Linked DNA regions of Homo sapiens: regions 1, 2, 4 and 5 are each linked to region 3. The links are contacts of gene promoters, found by promoter capture Hi-C in blood cells and fetal thymus (Javierre and others, 2016). All regions are on one chromosome and are shown on one strand. Each heading gives the region's core, a stretch centred on a gene start or on the middle of the fragment in contact. The rest is flanking DNA. Distances are from core to core; before and after follow the strand shown.

Evidence for each region. The method cuts DNA at HindIII sites, captures the fragments that hold promoters and counts their contacts. A CHiCAGO score of 5 or more calls a contact.
Region 1: a contact is called between a fragment that was not itself captured here and the fragment with the promoter of CHL1 in region 3, in 2 of 17 cell types (naive B cells and total B cells). The highest score is 21.2, in naive B cells.
Region 2: a contact is called between a fragment that was not itself captured here and the fragment with the promoter of CHL1 in region 3, in 2 of 17 cell types (naive B cells and total B cells). The highest score is 6.9, in naive B cells.
Region 4: a fragment that was not itself captured here is called in contact with the fragment with the promoter of CHL1 in region 3 in 1 of 17 cell types (naive B cells); the score reaches 5.0 in naive B cells.
Region 5: a fragment that was not itself captured here is called in contact with the fragment with the promoter of CHL1 in region 3 in 2 of 17 cell types (naive B cells and total B cells); the score reaches 7.6 in naive B cells.

What each region holds. Positions count from the first base shown.
Region 1 is chr3:336,782-339,481 of GRCh38, reverse strand. All of the region lies in intron 5 of CHL1 (cell adhesion molecule L1 like), which reads right to left. Among named protein-coding and RNA genes, the nearest start is that of CHL1-AS1, 48 kb to the left of the region's middle. The HindIII fragment of the contact is 3,244 bases long and covers 1-2,700 here.
Region 2 is chr3:32,606-35,305 of GRCh38, reverse strand. No RefSeq gene overlaps it. Among named protein-coding and RNA genes, the nearest start is that of LINC01986, 22 kb to the right of the region's middle. The HindIII fragment of the contact is 771 bases long and covers 1,056-1,826 here.
Region 3 is chr3:195,461-198,160 of GRCh38, reverse strand. CHL1 (cell adhesion molecule L1 like) reads right to left here and starts at 1,398. Exons shown (of 28, transcript NM_006614.4): 1 at 1,098-1,398. CHL1-AS2 (CHL1 antisense RNA 2) reads left to right here and starts at 820. Exons shown (of 4, transcript NR_144487.1): 1 at 820-1,194; 2 at 1,653-1,705; 3 at 2,121-2,165; 4 at 2,247-2,403. The HindIII fragment of the contact is 3,854 bases long and covers 1-2,700 here.
Region 4 is chr3:402,076-404,775 of GRCh38, reverse strand. The region is part of intron 27 of CHL1 (cell adhesion molecule L1 like); the gene reads right to left. Among named protein-coding and RNA genes, the nearest start is that of CHL1-AS1, 18 kb to the right of the region's middle. The HindIII fragment of the contact is 3,393 bases long and covers 1-2,700 here.
Region 5 is chr3:376,234-378,933 of GRCh38, reverse strand. It overlaps CHL1 (cell adhesion molecule L1 like), which reads right to left. Exons shown (of 28, transcript NM_006614.4): 16 at 992-1,116. All of the region lies in intron 2 of CHL1-AS1 (CHL1 antisense RNA 1), which reads left to right. Among named protein-coding and RNA genes, the nearest start is that of CHL1-AS1, 8.2 kb to the left of the region's middle. The HindIII fragment of the contact is 5,236 bases long and covers 1-2,700 here.

The sequences.
Region 1 (2,700 bases), core at 93-2,592, 140 kb before region 3:
AGATTCCTTTTAGAAAGTCTCTGGAAACATTTTTGAAATAGCAACCATCTTTGAATCACATTTTTGCTATAGGTAGCATGAAATTTCCCTCAAAAGTCGGGAAAGTATGTTTAGTATATTCACTACATTAAGAGCTTGTAGATAAAACATCATGCCAGCTATTTGGTAAAGCCTCGGCTTTGATTGACATCAAATGCTATGGAAAACATTTTGCAGAAAGTACACCTTATAGACATAAGGCATAGTAATATACAAAACGTTTATGTACCCAAATCTCCAAATTGAACCACTTATTTAGTTTTATTCGCTGTAACTTAAGCCCAGTAAACACTGGCATTGAAGTCAGTGGTGCTGTTGGGTAGTTGGTGAATCTATCTATACTCAGATACAAGAGGCAGCAGAGGAAATAAAATATGGATTAGAAAATGGAAAGGGCATGTAATCCACTTCGATAACAAGCAAACTATACAGTCCCTAATATGAATACACAGTTCACTGGATAATATCTATTGTAAAGTAGTTAATTAATAAGATGTATAAATCCCTAATTGGAGAGCTGCTCCCTGAGAGCGTTAAAAAAAACCTAGCAATTCGAACAGATAGTACTGCCACTGAAGCATTATCATCCTTGCATTAATTAAATCTAGATTATACAATTCTAATTCTGAAAATGTAAATTTGTAATTCAACTGGCTTCTAAGGCACCAACAATAAAAAAGAAAAGAAAATTTATAACTCTACCAAAACTGCTATCGCGTGCCATAAATCTTCAGAACAGCTTTTAACTAAATACAAAATGAATATTGGAAAACAGGGACGCATACTTATACATCAATAAATTTAAGGTTTTAGAAGATATATAAATGGCATTAATTTTTCAGGAATTTTTTATGTCTTATCCTTTGACTCTGAAACTATTTAGTGAGTTTGATGGCACGATAAAAAGTGAAAATTTTAACACTCACAGATAAATGTGAACTTTAATTACTATAACACAGCAGCTAACATGAAGTCTACCTCAATTCAGATAAAGAAATGACTCCATTTAAAAATAAATCCAACCAGTGGCATTTACTGTGTTTATCTGGTGACAAACATTAGCATTGCTGAGTTTGGACAACAGTAATATTTTTAAAAGTAAATTAAAAAAATATTTTTTTCGGTAAATGAGGTAATTACACTCCTTTATCTTGCCAATATATTTCACATGGGTACTTCATCAACACCAAAACCAAAAATCACTTAACTTTGTTTCAACAAGACTGGACTTGATCCTGAATGGCCTCTCTGCAAAGGGATCAGAATCAACTTGCACATAACAGTCTAGCTAAGCAGAATTTCAAGAATGTTTGCACTTTGGGAGGCCGAGGTGGGCGGATCACAAGGTCAGGAGATCGAGACCATCCTGGCTAACATGGTGAAACCCCGTCTCTACTAAAAATGCCAAAAAAAGGTGCTGGAGAGGATGTGGAGAAATAGGAACACTTTCAAACTGTTGGTGGGACTGTAAACTGGTTCAACCATTGTGGAAGACAGTGTTATTCCTCAGGGATCTAGAACTAGAAATACCATTTGACCCAGCCATCCCATTACTGGGTATATACCCAAAGGATTATAAATCATGCTGCTATGAAGACACATGCACACATATGTTTATTGTGTCACTATTCACAATAGTAAAGACCTGCAACCAACCCAAATGTCCTGGAACCAACAATGATAGACTGGATTAAGAAAATGTGGCACATATACACCATGGAATACTATGAAGCCATAAAAATGATGAGTTCATGTCCTTTGTAGGGACATGGTTGAAGCTGAAAACCATCATTATCAGCAAATTATCGCAAGGACAAAAAACCAAACATTGCATGTTCTCACTCATAAGTGGGAATTGAACAATGAGAACACTTGGACATAGGAAGGGGGACATCACACACCGGGGCCTGTTGTGGGGTGGGGGGAGAGGGGAGGGATAGCATTGGGAGACATACCTAATGTAAATGATGAGTTAATGGGTGCAGCACACCAGCATGGCACACGTATACATATGTAACTAACCTGCACATTGTGCACATGTACCCTAGAACTTAAAGTATAATTTAAAAAATATATATAAAAAAATTAGCCGGGCGTGGTGGCGGGCGCCTGTGGTCCCAGCTACTCGGGAGGCTGAGGCAGGAGAATGGCGGGAACCCGGGAGGCGGAGCTTGCAGTGAGCAGAGATTGTGCCACTGCCCTCCAGCCTGGGCGACAGAGCAAGACCCCGTCTCAAAAAAAAAAAAAAAAACAAAAACAAAAGAATGTTTGGAAATCCCATTATAACCAAGTCTAGATGAGATCAATTTCCTTTCTATCTAATGCCACTATTAATCCATTTGCATCAGCAAAGCAAGCATATCACAGCATCTATCTTTTCACTCTTCTCCATTAGGCTTTCACATTTATTATTCAGTGTCATAGACAGATTTCTAGCAACAACTAACACCAAGGGTATAAGTGACATTCAAATATATTCACATCTAGGTTTTTGAAAACTTCCCCAGTTGAAATCCATCATGGAAACACTTCCCTACAGACAAGCTAGCTGCACAGGAGTCTTATTACCACAACTATCAAGGCACAACCAACCTGCAGATACAAAATTTGCAGGAGCTCTATGACTTCAGATGCTGTCAATGAGTTTTGAAAACTCATCAT
Region 2 (2,700 bases), core at 192-2,691, 160 kb after region 3:
ATTTGCTTAGCCCATTATTATTAGTTAACCAAGGCTGCCATAACAAAATGCCACAGACTGGTATTCTCTCATAGTCCTGGAGGCTGGAAGTCCAAGATCTAGGTGTCAGCAGGCTGGTTTCTCCTGAGGCCTCTCCTTGGTTTGCTGCCTTCAAGCTGTGCCCTTGTATGGTCTTTTCTCTGTGCATGTGCCTTCCTGGTGTCTCTTCTTCTTATAAGGACACCAGTCCTATTGGATTAGGGTCCCACTCTTAAGACCTCGTTTAATCTTAATTACCTCTTTAATGGTCCTATCTCCAAATACAGTCATATTGGGGTTAAACTTTCAACATAATAAACATTCGTGGGTCACAATTCAGTCCATTCCATCCCTGTAAACATTTAGGTTTATGAATGCTTACATCAATTTGTAATTTTTTATGTTGGGAGGAGCCATTGAGCAGGACTCAACATAGGAGAGGCAGAAGGGGACTTGGATGTCATTAGCTTGTCTTCCTAACTGAAATAGCTCCTACATCATTGCTGCTGTCCAATCAACTTTTGCTTCAGCCTTTCCGAGATAGCTAAATGGTCTGGCTAATCACTGCCAACCAAGTCGTTTTCCATCAAATCACATTGTTTTGATTGATCAGCTAGCATTTGTGGAAAGATTTTGCCTGTCTTGTCATTCATTGCATCATGTAAAGTCTTGCTTATATAAATCCCTGGGAAGAGTTCCTTCCTGATAATGTTGATGGTAGTTGCCCTGCTGTTCTTTTGAGCAACTGGTCTCTTAAAAAAAAAAATCATTGGGACAATGTGTTTTGCATAAAAGCCCATATTTCCTATTTGGCTGGTCACCGTAAAGCAGAGATGTCTACTCTTTTGGCTTCCCTGGGCCACACTGGATAAAGAATTGTCTTGGGCCACACATAAAATACACTAACACTAGTGATAGCTGATGAGCTTTAAAAAAATCACCTAAAAATCTCATAATGTTTTAGGAATGTTTACAAACTTATGTTGGGCCACATTCAAAGTCGTGGGCCACAGGTTGGCCAAGCTTGCCGTAAAGCTTACAAACACAGGGGGAGGCTATGCCACTTAGAAACCAAGAAGGGCCTGCAGGCTGGCATAATGCCTCACAATTGTAATCCCAGCACTTTGGGAGGCTGAGGTGGAAGGATCGCTGCAGCCCAGCAGTTTGAGACTAGCCTGGGCAATATGGTGAAATCTCCTCTTTACAAAAAATAAACAAGATTAGCAGCGTGTGGTGGCACGTGCCTGTGGTTCCAGCTACTTCGGATGCTGAGGTGGGAGGATCACGTAAGTCCAAGAGGTTGAGGCTGCAGTTAGCCGGGATCATGCCACGGCACTCTAGCATCGACAACAGGATGAGACTCTGCCCCACCGTCCCCACTCCTGAAAAAAAGTGCCTGGAGTCAGAAAGTGTAAACTCAAAATCTTCCCCTGCACTCACTAAGTGTTTAGTTTTGGGCAAGTTACTTATTCTCTTAGAAGCCTGGTGTCCTCACCTGTAAATTGAAAAACACATTAAAGGTAAATGTTCTTTGTCCAGTTCTTGGCAAAGTTTTATGTGTTCAGGAATCACCCGGGGCCTTGTTAAAATGTAGATGAATCAACAGATTTGGGATGAGGCCAGAGTTTCTGCATTTCTCACAAATCCCAGGTGACGCTGATGCTGTTGTTCTGTGGACTGCACTTTGAGTGGCAGGGTCTTTGAGGATTAAATGAGATACAGGTGGAAAGCAGCTAGAACCCTGCTTCTCACATTATAAGAATCCAACATACCTTTCCTCCAAGGGTTAGTGTTATTCAGATGAAGCTTGTAGGTCAGTATAATCTGCCTTGTAGGAGGATTCATTGTAATATGATTGTGGTATTCCTTTGTGCATATCCTTGCACCCCCTTGAATTCATGCAGTTGCATCATACTTTATGTATTTTAGAAACCACCTGAAATCCTTTTTCATAAAAGAAGATTATATAAATTAAATACATTGATAAATAGACAATGAGAATGTACTTTTAAAAATGAATTTAAAATAATGTGATTCCAAAAAACTAAATCAGAGTACCCATTGTAATCACCACCACTCCCTAATCAGTAAGACACTTCCACATACTGCACCCTGGTGCACCTTATCATGCCTACTTTTCCATGACCCCGAACTTGCACACCATAATCCAGTTTTTCCTAACTTCTTTCAGGTCTTTCAAAAGTATTATATATGCGAGTGTCCTGGCCTTTGTTTTTGCTATTTTGTCTGATATTCTTTATCCTTCCCTCTGCTTCAGATCTCAGCTTAGATGCCACTTCCTTCAGGAAGTTGCCTGATCACCCTCTTAGATCTGAGTTTCCTGCCCCTTCAGGGGCTCTCATAGGACCTTTCTGTACTCTTATCTCGCTGCATTTCAAAATGTATCATAGCTCCTTATTTACTAATTGGTCCCTGTCACCTCCCATCCCCCCAATCTTTAAACTTCAGGAAGTCAAGAGCACTATGCTTATGTCCTGTTATATTCTTAATACTTAGAACAGTGCCTAATTGTTATTACAGTAAGCACCATAATGAAGACTCAATAAATATATGCTCCATTAATGATGAATGGATGAGTGGATAGATGGACGGATGAATAGATATAAAAGCAGATATCTCCATTGTTTGAGGATTTCATACAACATTTATTAGCAACAACTT
Region 3 (2,700 bases), core at 149-2,648:
CCTTCCCGCCCAGCAGCCCAAACGCCCACCCTGCGCTCCACCCTGCTGGCCGTCTGGGGCGGGGGTACCTGGGCCCGCGCGGCTGCTGCTCCTCCGGCCCGTGGTTTTTCGCAGGAGTTCCCCGGCCCTGCCCCTGGCTGAGACACTGTGGCTCGCAGCGAGCCCGGAGAGTGGGAACGGAGGGGCTGGCTTTCCCCAGCCTCCCGGCTCCAATCCCTGCTCCCCAAATTAATCACTTTCTCCGTGCTGCCTCCCCACGCACACTCACACTCCAAAAAAAAAAAAAAAGCGAGAGAAAGAGAGAGGCACAAAGAGGAAGAAGGGACCATCCGCGACCGGCATCTCCAGCCCCCCGGGCTCCGCTACCAGGAGCCATGGCAACCACGGCCCCCGGCGCGCCCTCTCGCCCCTCGGCGGTCTGGGGAGGTGGAGCTCTAGCCCCTCTCTGGGTTTTCGTGCTCCCCAACCCCACAACCCCACGGTCCATGGATTCCCCGCTCCAGGCTGGCGGCATTTTCGGAACCCCCCCCGGGCTGGGATCTAGAATCCTCTCCTGAGAGGAGGAGCCACACAGGGGCAGTGGACTGGGGGGGTCTGAGCCCCACACACCAGGCGGTGTCCAGGGGAGCGAGGGGCGCGGTGGGAGACAGAGGCCGGGACTGACCCCCAGACCAGCTAGACCTCGGAGCCCCACCCGAGAGAGGGCGGAGATCTACGGGGGGGTCTGGAATCCTCCTCAGAGAGCAGCGAGGGATGGGGTGGCGGAGGCTGGAAGCGGGAGGGCCAACCTACCGGCGGCCGGCGGGCGTGAGTGGGACCCGGCGGATTCGGGCGCCCGGTGTGCTCCGTCGACTGACCCCGAGCTGTCCGAATCCGGCCTCGGCCACCGGGGGCGGGGCGTGAAAAGGGGGCGTCTCCTCCCGGGTGCAGGCTGAGGGGCCCGGACCACCCCCACTGCGGACGAGGGACCCTGACCGCGCCCCGCTTCCTTTCCATAACGAGTGGACCCCTCCCGGAGCACCTTCAGCCCTTCCTCCACGGGAGACCCCCCCAGCGCCGGCACGAGAGATGCCAGCGGACCCCCACCCCTGACACACCTGCGCCGCCTCCGAAACGCGATCTGTCCGGCGCCTCCCCTCGGGCGCCTTCTCCCCCGAGCCGGCCGGGAGCCGGGACGGGGGCGCGCAGGGTCCGGTAAGCTCTGGGCGGATCCAGGGAGGGTCTCGCCGGCCGCTGCCCGCTGGTCCGCACCCGGGGCTGTCCGCGGAGGTCCCGCCCGTCCCCTCCCGCCGCTGGCTCTCTGGCCGCGGGAAGGCTGGAGCCGTTCTGGCTGGCACCGGGGTCTACGCCCTCCTGCCGGAGGCTGGCTCTCGCCTCTGCTCCCTTCCTGGGTTCTGCGCCGCCACCCCTCACCCACGCCGCTTATCTTCCCTCCCTTTGCACGCTCCCGCGGGACAGGGAGAGTTACAGGCTTCAGACTTTATCTCGTTGTGGAAAGCAAGAGACCAAGCCAAAAACTTTGGTCGTGCTTTTCAACATCTCCGGTCAAAAGAGGTAGGATCCCTGCTCGTTTATCTGCAAAAGCGACATTTAAAAGAAACGCCCCCCACCCCCTCCCCGATGGTTTCACTCGGTTCATGTTGCACACACAGGTCGCCAATCTGCTTTTCTCCCATTGCTGCGTCTTAGAGGGGTGTGGTGCCATGTACGTATTAAAAATTGTCTTCTTGCTTTCCTTCATTTAAGGGCGTGGTGGGGCTTGCTATTGAATTTACAAAATATGCTACGACCATCCGCTGTCAAATTGTGCATGCTTAAATTTACAGATCTTCTACTATCTCACAATTTTTGCCCTAATACAGAGTCTATAATGTTACCACATCGTTTCGTAACGTTTTTCCTACTTATCCTTTATTAATTCACTATTGGAGAGGAAAGCCTTCTGTACTCATATTCAGTGCAAAAAGCCAGTTCTGATGCCTTATGAATCCACAAACACATAAAAATATTTTAGGATTCCAAAATTCATATGGAAAAATTATAATTTTTAGCACTACATTTGATTTATATGCCACTTTATTTTTTTTCCATTATGGTGGTATTTTCCAAAATTTTTACAGGATACCACTTTTGAAAATCCTGTTGAATGCAAGTCCTCTTTGTTGGTAAGAGAATTATTGACTTCTAATTTTTACTCCACTAAGGCTGTGAGATTGACCTTACAGCCTCGTTTTGTTTTCATCTAGCTCATTGAACAATGAGGATATTTAGCTCCCCTCAGAGCTACCCTCAGAGTTGGATGAGCTATCCTCAGAGTTGGATGCCACCACCGGGAGCAGCAAAAGCGAAGGCAACTCATGATTCTGCCTCAGAAGCAATCGAATAAAATATTTTGAAAATGAATGAATGGACTTTTAAATTTTAATCATCGCTAACCTTGGGGCCTCGATTCTGTCAATTTGTGTGTGGGCACAGTTCTTACCAACTGCCTTGGCAAATTGTGAATGCAAGTGAGGGCAGGATTTGTCCTAAGTTTAAATTGTACTGCTGGAGTGATTTCTTTTGCCTGAGGCATCATTATTCACGTGGCATGTTTTCTAAAGTAGAAACAAAGATAGAATATTAAATAAAATTCCAACAGGGGGAAATACTCTGCCTGTAGAAAAACATTTCCAAGGTCAAGGAACCACAAGAGAACAA
Region 4 (2,700 bases), core at 82-2,581, 210 kb before region 3:
TTTGGAGCTCCTGGCCTCCAAGTCTTGATCTTCTGCCTTTACTTCTGATCCTTTTGATTCTCTTATATCCTGATAAAATGTTCTTTTTTAAAAATCAATCACATTCTGTTTTTGAAACCAAATAACTTTCTTTAATATAGTTAACAATTCAAGTTTGTTACATTTTAAGACAGAAAGAAATGGCTGGTATTTTAAGAACATAAATAAGTATACTATATTTATGGTAGGTGTTTTATTCATGAACAGAAGCAAATCCATTAGTGAAATGCTTATCAAATGGTATGATCTTCTAAATTTTGGATCAAGATTTTTTTAAGTACCAATTAGTATTACATTATGAAGCTATACACCATATAAAATGATTTTATCAAATTTGATCAATGAAGCATTTGGAAAAAATATAATTTGGATGTACATATCACTTTATAATTTGTGGTATTTGTCAGAGCTGTTCATCAAGTATGTCAGGTTTCTAGGAATAAAGCAGGATGGCACTTCTTTGCCTACTCTGTGTTATATGCCACCATGGAATTTTCTTTGGTTTAAAAAAAAAGTGAGCAAAGGTGACATGTGTCTCTTCCGAGCCAAAGATTTAAAGCCAGTGCTCAGTTTATTACATTCTATTTTCCCTGCTGTGGGGAGCCTGGATGCTCGTCCACCAGCCAGTGCTCCTAAGTGATTAAGATGAAAAGGGCAATCTCTGTGGGACACATAACTTGAGAAAGAAAATGCTTTTGGAGTTGTTTTGACAGCAGCATAACACAGGCTCCCCTGACTGATACGATAATTGGCTCTTGAATTAGGATATTGCAGTTACAAGAACAAATCAAGAAAAACAATGAGGCATCGGCTGAGGAATCAGGAACAAAGAATAAAGAAAAATAACAAAAGGGATGATTATCAGAAGCTAGAAGAATGAGGACTTATGCAAGGGCACAGCATCTTATAAAAGTGTCTCCTGGGATAATGTGGAAAGTAGACAATTATCCTGATAAATATGTAGTTTGGGGGAAAGAGGTTGGAAAACACATCAGCTACTATAAAGGGATGTCATAGGAAATAATGCACAGGAAGATGTTAGCTATCTTTATAAAGGAGCAGCAGGGTGTGGGGAAATGGGTTTTTAGACAAGGCATTGTTTTTGTTTTCTTGCCTGTAAAATTGAGCTAATATTGTCTTTCAAAATTTTTTTTTGCTTGTTTGTTTGTTTGTGTTTTTGTTTTGTTGTTGAGATGGAGTCTCGCTATGTTGCCCAGGCTGGAGTGCAGTGGCACAATCTCAGCTTACTGCAACCTCCGCCTCCTGAGTTCAAGAAATTCTCCTGCCTCAGCTTTTGAAAAGTTGTTGCAGGTCCTTAATGATCATTGCCTCATGGAATTTGTATCTTGTATAATCCTCTTCCTTTGAGTTGTGAGCTAAACTTAATGATTTGTTCCTATAGAATACAACAAAAGTGATGGGATATCACTTCCAATATTAGGTTACAAAAGGACTGTGGCTTCCAACTTGGGTGCTCTCTCTTGCTCCCTGGCTCACACATTCTGAAGGAAGCCAGCTGCCATGTTGTGAATGGCCCCATGGAGATATCTACGTGGTATGGAGTTAGGAATGACCTCTGGCCTGTGAAGAACAGAAGCCCTTAGTTCAACAGCCTGTATGGAACTATATCCTGCCAACAGCCACACGAATGGCCTAGGAATGATTTGTGCTTTGGCTGAAACTTTAGATGAAACCATAGCCCTGGTCAAAACCTTGCTGCAACCTCATGAGAGGTCCTGAGCCAGAAGTACCCATCTAAGCCATGTCTGGATTCCTGAATTATGAGGACATTGAAATAATAAATGTTTATTGTTTTAAGCTGTTGAGTATTGGTGGTTATTGTTATGAGGCAACTGCTAACTAATACAATAGTAATGATCACAATTCGTGAAGTTCCAAAATTCTTTCTTCCTTTTTCTTTTTCTCTCTTTCTTTCTTTCTCTTTATTGTTCTTTATTCTGGAAAGAATTTAAAGTCATTTATTAAGAAATATAAAAATATAAAAAGGGTATTGACTAAGTAGAATACAGAAAAATAAGTATACCACAAAATGGAGGTACAGGTAAGCCCAAATGTCTACCAATTAGCTAATGAAAATACTCCATATCCCTTGCTAGAGTAATGAATCCAGAGATGAGAGAATCAGGATCAATCAGATTTCTTCTTTAATATAAACTCTGGTTTCCCATGTGCTAAAATCAATACAAACCTGGAACTTACAATATGTCTGTTGGCTGAAATATACAGGAGACCTGAGAAAAATGATGACATTACAACAAAAAAGAACTAAGAAGTTGAGAGAGTAGCAGAAAGGGGAAGGTGGAGAAAGATAAAAGGAGAATGAGACAGTTTAACACGTCCCCGAAAGATTCCTACCTAGCTCAGAGTAGACTTCTTGCCATTCCTCCCTTGCCCGACACACCCTCACTCATTTGGTCATCCTCTGTCCAGTGGTTAACAGTAACACAATACTTTTTATCCTTTAAGGCTTAGCTTATCTCTTATGGATGATTCTTTTTCCAAAATCCTACCTGGGCAGAAACAGTTACTCTCTTTTGTGCTCTTTTATTCTATTTAATTCATTACAGTCATTTGCATATATAGGATATTTTTCTCTGCTGATCAGGTTCATCTAGAGGACAGGGTTTGTAACTTACTTAC
Region 5 (2,700 bases), core at 184-2,683, 180 kb before region 3:
TCAATGAATAACTCACACAAATTTACGATAGTTCCAAAATGTTTTAATAAAACGTCTTTAAAAAGATGTGGGCAGGATGTTCAGTAGGTTGGGTGTGAGAGAGACTTGAAATATTGGTGGTGGGATGCAGCTGCTAGAGCCTCATCAGAAGGAATGGTGTGAGGAGACCCTGTCTGCAGAAGCCATGACTTTGGCAGTGGGACACAGCCAGTCCACAGGGATGGAGTAGGGAGAATCAGTACAACACTCCAAACGGCCCTCCACTTGCTGAACCAAATAATAGCTGGAAGGAAAGTGGTTTGCTGATGTTGTCCTTAAAAGCAACCTTTCTAGGTCAAAGAGCTGGTAGAGAGTGAATCTGGAAGGGAAATTTTGGAAAACATCCAGCAGATGGTCTAAGAGCTTTAAACATTGGTGATTTCAGGAGTAATTGCATTGATTATACTAGTGAAGTGTGCACACTGTTTCCTGATTAGTACTTTCATCAACAACAACAACGACAAAAATCAAAGACATTCCTTTGTAGAATGCTGGAAGTTCCTCTCCATCCTTCCTGGAACCCTGGGAACTCAGTCTGTGCCTTTGGTTTAGAGATGACCACCGTGCATCCACCTCTTGACCCCTATCGAGATCCTCCAGTCTAGCCCACCTCCATTCCTCAGCCCCATTTCTTTGTACACCAGGAAAGAGTAGCTCAAGAGTGCTAGGAACTCAAGCGTGCTTTATTTTTCTTTCTGCGGATAGCATCACTTACCTCCCACTGCTATTGGCAAATTAACACATGTAGGGAAAAAAAATTAAGCATTAATTAATTTCTTTTATATGAAAAAAGGAGAAAGGATTTGAAGTTGTGTTGCTTTTTAAACAAAAATTTGAAACTAACAATATATGTGCAGGGGCTCAAAGAATCATTAGCTTTATTGGCCAGGAACGATGGGATTTAATCAGAAATGAAGAAATGAACAGATTTCTCATTAGTTAGTGCACTTACCAAGAACAGTTACTTGAGTTATATCGGCAGCACTGTCTAGAGCAGTATGAGCTGAACAGCAGTAAATACCTTGGTCCTCTAAAGTTACATTAGATATGGTCAAATTAGCTCCATCAATAATTATCCTATCAGAAAAAAAGTGAGTACATGATGAGAAGGAAAACAATAGAAATGATAGAAACCCAATTCTTTTAAAAATGCATATTCCTTATCGAAAACAATCTAAGAGTGAAAGATGACTTTATGCAATGCAAATTTGATTAGAGAATGCCACAGTTGAAACCTGGAGATAAAGAATTATTCTAGCATACACAACTGTCTACATAGCCATAAACAAAATCACATTAAAAATTATGAAATCTAACCATCTGTTTGCATGGGTCAGTGATGGAACTGTATGTTGCCTGGCATGTTTAAAGAGTGCATCATACCTCACAATGGCCAAGATATATTTGAGTAATTCTTAAGGTATGTTTAGGGAATCACCTATATAGGCTCGATTGGAGTGCTTCCTACAAAGGCAGATTCCTGAATTCCATCTCCATTCCACAGAACCAGAATACCTGAGAAGGAGTCGGATAATCTCAGTTTTTCACAAGTTTCTCTTTTCTCCGCCCCTCCACTCCCAAGTACAATGCACATTAAGATCAGATAGCAATTGAAGCATATGACTTATTTGAACAGAAGATGGCAGTGTAGTACTTCTTTTTGCAAATCATTTCACCTCACTTTTTATCATTTGTTTTTACCAATTTGTGATCAGGTTTACTATGAGAAAACTGCTTCTTTATAAACTTCACCTTTTACCCCGTACCATTGTTGAGATAACTATTAAAGTATTTTTCAAGTTCCGTAAAATTTAAAATGTATTCATAATAATTAGCATTTTGTTGAAATAACTTAAATAGTGTCATCCTTGTGAGGAGGAAAGGAGGCTCACATAATTAATATTTTTATGTACATTTCATATAAAATGCTGAGAATTTTGAATTATATAAACCTACTTTAAATTGCAGTGTAATGAAACATAGTTATTTTGATTATAGACAGAATCAGCCCTTATTCCTACACCAATAATAGAAAGATTTGCCAACCAATATTACCTTGAATTGTTAATCAAGAATCTCACCATAATTCTAGACATAATAAAACTTTGACATGAATTAACATGTCAGGTCATGTTACTCAGGTGTCCATTTGATACAATATTAGAATACTGCATATCCTGACAATTTTTGAAAAATGTACCTTCTTAGATGAAAGAATATACTTTAATAACCTCTTGAAATAGGACTTCTGTGCCCTGCACGAGGGCCCATAGTAGCTGAAATCTTGCCAAGATTTATACCCTGGCACGGGGTGTTTCAGGCCAGAGAAGAAAGCTACCAATTTTTTTGGCAAGTCATGGTTGCACTATGCCTTGTTTCCAGTCTCACAAATGTATCTTAGGTGCCTCCAATTAATCAACGTTGGGTGCCTCACTAGTCCTCGAAATGTGGTAGGTATGGTATACCTAAAGAACTTATTAAAAATGTCGTGTTCCAGCCTCAGTCCAGGTTCCAAATCAGTACATTTGGAGATGGGGCAAGGGCCATTGCATTTGAACATGAAGCCTGGATAATTCTGTCACATGTCAAAATCACAAATAGTTGTCACACATAGGGTCACACAGAAAATCACACACGGGGTCACACTATGGTGTGCTGCAG